Linked DNA regions of Homo sapiens: regions 2, 3 and 4 are each linked to region 1. Evidence: promoter capture Hi-C in 16 types of primary human blood cells and fetal thymus (Javierre and others, 2016). All regions are on one chromosome and are shown on one strand. The core of a region is centred on a gene start or on the middle of the fragment in contact, and the rest is flanking DNA. Distances in the headings are between cores, read along the strand shown. Region 1 holds the start of SLC25A53 (solute carrier family 25 member 53). Region 2 has its middle 20 kb from the start of MORF4L2. Region 3 overlaps PLP1 (proteolipid protein 1). Region 4 has its middle 17 kb from the start of RAB9B.

Region 1 (2,579 bases), core at 46-2,545:
GCTGCCAGCCTTCAAGGGAGAGATCTTTGCCTTAGTGGGTTCTGCCCTTCTGCTTCTGAAGAGAACCTAGTCTTTCTGTATGGGCATTCAGGCAATTCTTGGGGTGGGGAGTTGGGGGAGAGAGAGCACTTGAAAAGAATTTATGGTGGCCTTTTTCTCAGTGATATTTGAGAAATACCAAGACACATCTGAATGTATCTGAGTTTAAGTCTTGGCTCTATTTGTTATTAGCTCTGTGACCGTGGGCAAGTTATTGATTTATATGCAATCTGACTAATCTGAGTTTTCTTAGCTGCTTTAAGCAGACAAAGAGGACAGGAAAGGGTAATACACTTAAGAACCAGCAAAGGGCTATTGTGAGGATGAAGCAATAACAACAAAATGGGTTTAAAGCACTTATCATAGTGCGTGGTCCATAGAACTGCAAACGTTGGATTTTGCTTATTTTAGGACAGTACAAAGAGACTCTTTAATATACTCTTCTGACTCCAGCCAGAGTGGTAGTAATTTCCATATCAGCAGTCCCTAGAATCAGGTATTACAGCCTCAGCCTGGAGAGAACAGGGCAATCCCCTCTATCCCAGGTGAAATGATTATTATCATTTATTATTTATTAGCCAGAGGTCTTAGGTGAGATCAAATTCAATCATTATAATTTATATTTCAATATACTGCTTAACTTCATGATAGGCAATGTTCTAGGTGCTCCTCACATGTGAAATTTTAATATTTTTACTGCAACTCTGGAGGTAAGTACTATTATTATACCAATTCTACAGATGAAAAAGCCAAGGAATAGCATGCTTGAATCACTTGCCCAAGATGCCATGTTTAGATAGTGGTACAGTGGGGATTCGAACGCGGGAGCTCAGGTTTCAAAGTCTGTGCTCTTTACATATGCAGCTAAAGAGTCAGACAAGAACCAAAAGGAGATGGAGAATAGAGGGTAGAAAGGGCACAGGTTCAAGGTGAAAGGTCAGAAACTGCAAATTCGGAGTTTGGGTTGGTCTAGCAGCTTAAAGGCGTCATCATGAACTGTTCACCTAAGTAAGTTAAGCTCCTGTTTGAGAATGACTGATAAGCTTGCAAGCCAACTTACAAACAAACTGGGGAAATGTTCCAATAGATGACTAAGTCTTTTAGGTCTTTTTACCTGTGTTTTTCGGTCTCTATACCAGATTAGTCGCCTGGCTCTCCCAAACAGACCGGCCAACTGACGTAGTCGCGAAACGGTTAATGTCGAGGCGGGGGCGGGGGAGGCGGAAATAAAGAGAGCGGAAGCAAAGAGGATTGTGGGAGCTCCGTTGTGCGTCGCTTAAGTGAGGGCGGCGGATGGGCGAAGGTCCGGTGACTGCGACTGTCGCTGCTTTCTGAGGCCACAGGAAAGGGGCCGTCGGTCGCCGCCATGACAGCGAGCGAGGCGGAGGTTTGTAGCACTTCTTATGGGCTGAGGGCGTAGACACATCCTGCTTCCAGCCTAGCAGGCAAACGGGAACGGAAGTGATAGGGGATCAGAAGTTGCGAGGGGATGAGGAGTAGGGGAAACTGACAAGCGGACGGACCCGGCGGCGAGAATTGATGGCGTAGCTGTAGGATTAAGGGGCGTGTCAACTGTGTTGTGTGTGTTGACACTGAGATGTGTGAATCCCCTCATTATTTTTAGCTGGGGACAGGCGGGGTCTATGGGGGAGGGGGCGGACGGATGAATGGAGGATAAAATCAGGGCGAAAACGTGTTGTCTGCTGGGCACCAGTACATCTGAGTCACATCTCAGCAGGATGATTTTATTGGAAAGATCTAGGTCCCTGGTTTCAGATTCTGCTATTGATGCGTTGATTGATTTCCCTTACCAAAATACCAAGTACCTGCTCTGTGCTGGGTACTGCACTAGAGGCTCCGGATGAGGAAAGGAATTAGGCTTTTTCCTCGACATTTACAGCCTGCCGGTTGCTATCTGCATTTGGAGACAGGCTATTACAATACAAGGAGACAGAGATAGATCCTGTGTTATGAAAATCTATTGGGTGCCACCGAACTCATCTGGGAGTTGAGATCTGGGACGGCTCTTTGATGCGGTGATTTAACATATATTTTGAAGACAAAATAAGCAGGGCAAAAACGAAGTGCAATTTTCCTCCAAGCACCTTCCCTCCCTGTTGAGGTGAACTGGAGAACTGAGTAGCATTTAAGGCCCAAAATTAGTGTATTTCTTTTTTTTTTTCTTTCTTTCTTTCTTTTTTTTTTTTTTGATAAGGAGTCTCTCTACTTCTGTCGCCCAGGCTGGAATGCAGTGGCGTGATCTCCGCTCACTGCAACCTCCGTCTGCCGGGTTCAAGTGATTCTCCTGCCTCAGCCTCCCGGGTTGCTGGGATTAGAGGCACCCACCACCACTCCCGGCTAATTTTTATATTTTTATATTTTTAGTAGAGACGGGGTTTTACCATGTTGGCCAGGTTGGCCTCGAACTCCTGACCTCAAGTGATCCGCCTGCCTCGGCCTCCCAAAGTGCTGGTATTACAGGCATGAGCCACCGCGCCCGGTCCCCACAACTAGTTTATTTCTGGTAAGAGCATTTGCCC
Region 2 (2,579 bases), core at 54-2,553, 490 kb after region 1:
GGCTTTGATTTCATATCTGTTATATGTTAATGCCTAAGAGGAAACTTTTAATTTAACATTCTGTCATGGAAATTTAAACCAACTAGTCCCTGAGTCCTGGAAGATCACAGTATAACATTAGAATTTTTTTTTAAGGTAGAGTGGGGGAGAGTGTGGGTTTTGGAGTGTGACAGACCTGGGTTTGAATCCAAGCTCTCAAACTTACTAGATTTAGGGCCTTGGAATATATACTCAACCTCTGAGTTCCATTTACTTCTTTGTTTAGGGAAGATACGGCTGCCTACCTTGGTAGAAAACAATTCTGCCTGCCTACAGAATTATGAGAATTAAAGAGAGAACCAACTTAAAACATGAAACACTTCATCTGGCCCATAGTGGACACTCAAACAAATATTAGTTCCCTTCCTATTCTGCTTCCTCCCTTCCTTGAAAGTTATGCCTTTGACATTCTTTACTTTATAAAGAACATTTGCAAAGGTAATAACAAGAAGGGGAAAACGCAGGTATGATCTTCAGTGCCATTTCTGTATTCCAGAATGAGCTGTCTGATGGATCCTACAGGAAAAGGAACAATATCATCATACCATTTTCATTTTGGGAGTTACACATCCAGTGAAGTTGAAAGTAGGGGGCAACAATAATCAAGCTATTTAACTGTTTCATGTGTTTTCCTGAAACTTAATTTTAGCTTATAGGTTAAAAATCAATAAAGCATATGTACTTAGAGCTCCAGAACTTTAGAATGAGAGTTCCAGTGCCAAACCCTTTAATAGCTACTGGGCCTGGTGAGATCTTTCCCCCTTCTCTGACTTCACCTATCAGAGATGGAAAAAAAACCCACAACAACAACAACAACAACAACAACAAAAAACAGCTGATATTTATTACTTACTATGTGTTGACATTAAATGGACTATGTAATAATTTATGTAAACCTCACAACAACCCTAAGAGGAAGTAATGGAATTATCCCCATTTTACAAGAGGCACAGAGGCCAAGGACACACAGCTAAGAGTGGCAGATCTGGGATTTGAACCCAGTTAGTGACTACTCTTGACAGCTGTTAGCTACTGTACTATCCTGGCTCTCTGAAAAGGAGCAGGTTTTGAGAAATGTGAAACATGAGATCTCATTTGTGAAAGCACCATGATTGTATAACAGGCCTACCTAAAAGCTGATGTCAAAACAAGATTAGACATAAATAGATTTACTGGGGAAACACAATAGATAAAGGGAGAAAGAGCAAGAGAAGATGGGGAGAGCCTTTAGACTGTGATCCACATGTCACATCTGTGAAAGCAGAGGGAAGGAAGAAGAATTAGGTAGAAAGAGTCCCAGACTTCAGTTCATTTGAGAAGCTATGGACCAGGCCAATGGGGAGTACAAGCAAAGATTAAAAGTCTCCCATTGAGCAGAAATGGCATGGCTCTAGTGGCTCAGCTGTGCTAAGTCATGGTGTGGGAGCAGTCTGGGAAAAGTGTGTCCTTAGCACGAATCATGAATGTAAGGGTAGACTGACTCAGTGACTGCTTCCTTGCTGTCCACTTACCTTCTGCTGACTCAACCCTGAAAATTTTGCAAAGACCCTGAGCCTGATCCCTTCTATGCTGCCCCACCAGAGGGGCTCACACTCTTTTGCACTGTCTCCTAAGAGCAGGGGGATCCTGGTTAGCACAGAGCTCTCTCTCCAAGGTTCTGGCTGTTCCGTGCTTTCTGCTCTGGAATTGGCCAGATAAGTCACTGCTTGGATATGCGATTGACATACCAGCCTTCTGTGTGGGTAGGCAGGTGGTGAGGGGCCCACAGAAGCAGGCTCTGGATGCTGCTGACCCTCCACCACCAATGCCTTAAAAAGCATCTTCATACCAATTCACAGCTTGACTGTCCTGGCTCCCAAGTCATGAGCTGGGCCTGCAGTGCATGGGGATTTTCAGATAGAAAGTGACACCCCCTTTCTCCTGAGTTGTAGGACCACATGTCTTTGCAAGTTCCCTTTATCTGGGGTCTTCTGTATTTCTGGGTTTGGGATGACTGAGGCATCAGATGCACTGCACCAGGCAGACACAGAGCTAAAGTCCTTGCAGAACCAACCAAACAGGCCAGGGCACATCAAAGCCCTTCTGGGAGTCTGAGCAAGGTGGGTGGGAGACGGATGGGTGAGGTTTTGTGTGCCCCAGTCTTCTTGGGGGCTAACTGGACTCTGAGAGAAGGGTCAGCCCCTTCTGCTTCAACCTCAAGTTACCTGGTCAGATCTGTTCAGACATCTGCTTGCTCAAAGACTATCCCAATGAATGTTTCCTGCCAGGACACTTTGGGGCTTTATCTCCTCCCCTACAAAATGTTCCCCAAAAGAGAGAGGGGAAAGGAGGGAAAGGCAAAGTGTTCTGACCTGCAATAGGGCAGTCGGTTCTCCTCCTCCAGGTGTGTCTGTGCAGGGCAGCTTGGCCATTAGCCTAAAAGGGCCCTGTGCCTGCTGCAGGCAGAGAAACAAAAGTCAGACCCACCCCAGAGGGGAATGTGGCCTGAGTGAGCCCTTCCACCTCCTGCCTAAGCACCACCACTCTTAGCGTTAGGGGGA
Region 3 (2,579 bases), core at 80-2,579, 370 kb after region 1:
ATTTATTCCACACCTCTGTTTGATCTAGCACTGAGTTTTCCTCAGGGAAGTGAACAATATTTGGGCTTTGCCACATCAATATGTCCGAGTGACTTAGAGTCATAGGGTGCTTGCTGTAGACACACAGCCACATCATGCAGTAGAGCTCTCCCCTGGTTAATGAATCAATTCGTTTTACAAGGTGAGAAATTACTTGACTCTGTATGGAAACCTCAGCAGTAGGGGCCAGGAGTTCTGTGAGCTCATCTTGTCTGATCACTGCTTATAAAATAACTTCAGATAAATCACTTCACCCTTCAGTGCCTTAGGTTTTTAATCTGCACAATGAGCACACTACATTCACAGGGCACTGTAGCACTATCAGCAAGACCTGGGACATAGCATTGTATTATAATCATAACAATTCTAATAATGTTAGGAGGTCCTCCCAGTATTTCCATATGAGTAACTAAATCCACTGGAGAGTATCCAAAGTGGATTCATATTGATAGTATATAGAATTCCAGGCTATAGCAAGTCATGTTTCGTGATGTTTCAGTGTTTTGTCACTGATCTGATCAAAATGTATTGAGAATTAACCGTAATTTATGACTGCAAAGTACTTGGCAACATTACATGTTCTATAAATACTAAATATTATCATTCGTGTCTATGAATCTCTTACCTCTTTCCTCATACCACTTTTCTTGTTCCCATCTAATTTGTGATGTCTTTCTGCCTTGCCAATGCAAGTAGAAGTACGGAGCCTCCACCCTTTGCTATCTTCCCAGAAGCTTCCCTCCAGCATTTCAAGGATGGAAGCAGTCTACCTTCTTGCCTTTCAGAATAGCTGTACCCACACTATCTCAGGCCTATTTACTTGCCAAGATCATTCAAAGTCAACTCACCAGGGAAACCAGTGTAGCTGCAGCCCCCACAAATGCAGCAATAAACAGGTGGAAGGTCATTTGGAACTGCAGGAAAATGAAAGAGGAAGAACTGTTTCTTGCAACAGCAGTAATATGCTCCACTGTAAATCATGAATACAGCTTTCTGAATGTGTTGATATCTTTCTTGTGTGCTAATTCCACATCTCTAACTAAGTTTTCACTTCCCTAAATGTGGGCCTCCCAGTCTTCAGTGTACACCATAGCACCTGGCCCATTAACACCCAGATCACAGAATAGTCATGAAATAGTACAGTACTCCAAAATAATTAACTGGTTCCCTACAGTTGTGCCCAGGGGCCCAAAATTTAAAGTCAACATTTTGCTGTCAAAGAAATAATTTACTGCCTGTCTCCCCCGGATTTACTTTTATTCCCCTGCCTCATTTGTATATAATATCTGTTCTCAATACAGTGCTTTCCCTTTCAAATGTACTTATTTTACCTCTCATTTGAGATAAAGAAGTTCCAAATTGAAAATGTTTTCATAAAACCTATGAATGCCTCTGTGCACAGCCCATTTTCTTGATATGGTTTTTAACTAAAGGAATGAAAATTTTCATGTGGGGGATTTTGCCATTAGGCTCTATCTTTACCTAAAGCTACAAACTTCTCTTTTAAGAGGGGAAGGGTTGGAAAGGAAGTCTTTCTATGCAACTCTAGAGAAAACAGGTGTTTTACCTTCTATGCTCATTGGCTCAGGCACACTTAGCCAACATGTTGTAGAAGGCAATCGGCTAATTCAAAATCCAGCAAAGGGAAACTTTCAGTCCTTAAAATTGAAGGCCATGGGTGTAATTTGTATGGTATTAGCTACTCCCTTGTAAAATAACCCAAATAACCCACTCACCTCAGCTGTTTTGCAGATGGACAGAAGGTTGGAGCCACAAACCTTGCCAGGGAAAGCATTCCATGGGAGAACACCTAAGTAAGACACAAAAAGCAAGCAGGGTAAGCTTTATGGAGTTACGGGGCCACATGGAGACTTTCCCCCAGAGCCCTTCTTCCATCTCTAATTATCCTGGCTGTAAAGTTGGATTCTACCAACAATCAGGATCCTCTTTTCTACAGGTTTACAAAAAAGAGAAGGTGGTATTGAACAGTGGTGAAACCTTGTGTTTGTTATTGAAATGTGCTGCTTTGGGGTTGTGAACAGCAGTCAACTAGAGTAGGCCAATGTGAATGGCCAAGAAAACTCCCACCACTTCCAAGTTCCCTTCCCGGGGAAGAAACCTCTCTGGTTTCAGTAGGGAAGGATTAATAAACTAAGACCCAATCATTCATCATCTTATATTTTTCTCATAATCACCACCCTCCTTACACTAAGAAAATAACCAAATATATAGTGCTTCCATAGTGGGTAGGAGAGCCAAAGCACCCGTACCCTAACTCACCATACATTCTGGCATCAGCACAGAGACTGCCTATACTGGCAGAGGTCTTGCTGGGGAAGGCAATAGACTGGCAGGTGGTCCAGGTGTTGAAGTAAATGTACACAGGCACAGCAGAGCAGGCAAACACCAGGAGCCACACAACGGTCAGGGCATAGGTGATGCCCACAAACTAAAATGATTGACATGGGGTGGTTAGAAATCAGCATCAGCCTGCAGATGTAGAAACACAAACTGGGAGATCCTGGAGTGGCGTGTGCCAG
Region 4 (2,579 bases), core at 36-2,535, 340 kb after region 1:
GCTGAATAAATGTCTTCTTTTGAGAAGTGTCTGTTCATATCCTTCACCCACTTTTTGATGGGGTTGTTTGATTTTTTCTTGTAAATTTGTTTAAATTCTGTATAGATTCTGGATATTAGCCCTTTGTCAGATGGATAGATTGCAAAAATTTTCTCCCATTCTGTAGGTTGCCTGTTCACTCTGATAATAGTTTATTTTTCTGTGCAGAAGCTCTTTAGTTTAATTAGATCCCATTTGTCAATTTTGGCTTTTGTTGCCATTGCTTTTGGTGTTTTAGACTTGAAGTCTTTGCCCATGCCTATGTCCTGAATGGTATTGCTCAGGTTTTTTTCTAGGATGTTTATGGTCCTAGGTCTTACGTTTAAGACTTTAATCCATCTTGAATTAATTTTTGTATAAGGTGTAAGGAAGGGGTCTAGTTTCAGCTTTCCACATATGGCTAGCCAGTTTTCCCAGCACCATTTATTAAATAGGGAATCCTTTCCCCATTTCTTATTTTTGTCAGGTTTGCCAAAGATCAGATGGTGGTAGATGTGTGGTGTTATTTCTGAGACCTCTGTTCTGTTCCATTGGTCTATATATCTGTTTTGGTACCGGTACCATGCTGTTTTGGTTACTGTAGTCTTGTAGTAAAGTTTGAAGTCAGGTAGCTTGATGCCTGCAGCTTTGTTCGTCTTGCCCAGGATTGTCTTGGCTATGCGAGCTCTTTTTTGGTTCCATATGAAGTATAAAGTAGTTTTTTCCAACTCTGTGAAGAAAGTCATTGATAGCTTGATGGGGATAGCATCGAATCTATAAATTACTTTGGGCGGTAAGACCATTTTCATGATATTGATTCTTCATATCCATGTGCGTGGAATGTTTTTCCATTTGTTTGTGTCCTCTCTTATTTCCTTGAGCAGTGGTTTGTAGTTCTTGAAGGGGTCCTTCACATCCTGTGTAAGTTGTATTCCTAGGCACTTTATTCTCTTTGTAGCAATGGTGAATGGGAGTTCACTCATAGTTTGGCTCTCTGTTTGTCTGTTATTGGTGTATAGGAATGCTTGTGATTTTTGCACATTGATTTTGTATCCTTAGACTTTGCTGAAGTTGCTCATCAGCTTGAGAAGATTTTGGGCTGAGACAATGGTGTTTTCTAAATATACAATCATGGCATCTGCAAACAGAGACAATTTGACTTCCTCTCTTCCTATTTGAATACCCTGTATTGCTTTTTCTTGCCTGATTGCCCTGGCCAGAACTTCTAATACTATGTTGAATAGGAGTGGTGAGAGAGGGCATCCTTGTCTTGTGCCAGTTTTCCAAGGGAATGCTTCCTGTTTTTGCCCATTCAGTATGATATTGGCTGTGGGTTTGTCATAAATAGCTCTTATTATTTTGGGATACGTTCCATCGATATTGAGAGTTTTTAGCATGAAATGCTGTTGAATTTTGTCAAAGGACTTTTCTGCATCTATGGATATAATCATGTGGTTTTTATCATTGGTTCTGTTTATGTGATGGATTACCTTTATTGATATGTGTATGTTGAACCAGCCTTGCATCCCAGGGATGAAGCCAACTTGATTGCAGAGGATAAGGTTTTTGATGTGCTGCTGGACTCGGTTTGCCAGTATTTTGTTGAGGATTTTCACATCGATGTTCATCAGGGATACTGGCCTAAAATTCTCTTTTTTTGTTGTGTCTGTCTCTGCCAGGCTTTGGTATCAGGATGATGCTGGTCTCATAAAATGAGTTAGGGAGGATTCCCTCTTTTTCTATTGTTTGTAATAGTTTCAGAAGGAATGGTGCCATCTCCCCTTTGTACCTCTGGTAGAATTCGGCTGTGAATCCATCTAGTCCTGGACTTTTTTTTGGTTGGTAGGCTATTAATTATTGTCTCAATTTCAGAACCTGTTATTGGTCTATTCAGAGATTCAACTTCTTTGTGGTTTGTCTTGGGAGGGTGTATGTGTCCAGGAATTTATCCATTTCTTCTAGATTTTCTAGTTAATTTGCATAGAGGTGTTATAGTATTCTCTGATGGTAGTTTGTATTTCTGTGGGATCAGGGGTGATATCCCATTTATCATTTTTTATTGCGTGTATTTGATTCTTCTCTCTTTTCTTCTTTATTAATCTTGCTAGCAGTCTACCTATTTTGTTGGTCTTTTCAAAAAAACACCTCCTGGATTCATTGATTTTTTTAAGGGTTTTTTGTGTCTCTATCTCCTTCAGTTCTGATCTGATCTTAGTTACTTCTTGTCTTCTGCTAGCTTTTGAATTTGTTTGCTCTTCCTTTTCTAGTTCTTTAAATTGTGATGTTAGGGTGTCGATTTTAGATCTCTCCTGCTTTCTCTTGTGGACATTTAGTGCTATAAATTTCCCTCTAAACCCTGCTTTAAATGTGTCCAGGAGATTCTGGTATGTTGTGCCTTTGTTCTCATTGGTTTCAAAGAACATCTTTATCTCTGCTTTCATTTCGTTATTTACCCAGTAGTCATTCAGGAGCAGGTTGTTCAGTTTCCATGTAGTTGTGCGGTTTTGAGTGAGATTCTTAATCCTGAGTTCTAATTTGATTGCACTGTGGTCTGAGAGACA

What was found. The method cuts DNA at HindIII sites, captures the fragments that hold promoters and counts their contacts. A CHiCAGO score of 5 or more calls a contact.
Region 2: a fragment that was not itself captured here is called in contact with the fragment with the promoter of SLC25A53 in region 1 in 1 of 17 cell types (neutrophils); the score reaches 5.7 in neutrophils.
Region 3: a contact is called between a fragment that was not itself captured here and the fragment with the promoter of SLC25A53 in region 1, in 2 of 17 cell types (naive B cells and monocytes). The highest score is 5.5, in naive B cells.
Region 4: a contact is called between a fragment that was not itself captured here and the fragment with the promoter of SLC25A53 in region 1, in 2 of 17 cell types (total B cells and naive CD8 T cells). The highest score is 6.7, in total B cells.

What each region holds. Positions count from the first base shown.
Region 1 is chrX:104,155,725-104,158,303 of GRCh38, reverse strand. It overlaps SLC25A53 (solute carrier family 25 member 53), which reads left to right and starts at 1,295. Exons shown (of 2, transcript NM_001012755.5): 1 at 1,295-1,426. It also overlaps a transcript of FAM199X not described here. RefSeq lists an enhancer at 1,222-1,521. The HindIII fragment of the contact is 6,927 bases long and covers 1,085-2,579 here.
Region 2 is chrX:103,665,522-103,668,100 of GRCh38, reverse strand. No RefSeq gene overlaps it. Among named protein-coding and RNA genes, the nearest start is that of MORF4L2, 20 kb to the left of the region's middle. The HindIII fragment of the contact is 2,959 bases long and covers 1-2,579 here.
Region 3 is chrX:103,787,707-103,790,285 of GRCh38, reverse strand. PLP1 (proteolipid protein 1) reads right to left here. Exons shown (of 7, transcript NM_000533.5): 4 at 2,320-2,488; 5 at 1,776-1,849; 6 at 888-953. It also overlaps a transcript of RAB9B not described here. Among named protein-coding and RNA genes, the nearest start is that of PLP1, 12 kb to the right of the region's middle. The HindIII fragment of the contact is 1,108 bases long and covers 776-1,883 here.
Region 4 is chrX:103,814,234-103,816,812 of GRCh38, reverse strand. It overlaps a transcript of RAB9B not described here. Among named protein-coding and RNA genes, the nearest start is that of RAB9B, 17 kb to the left of the region's middle. The HindIII fragment of the contact is 4,661 bases long and covers 1-2,579 here.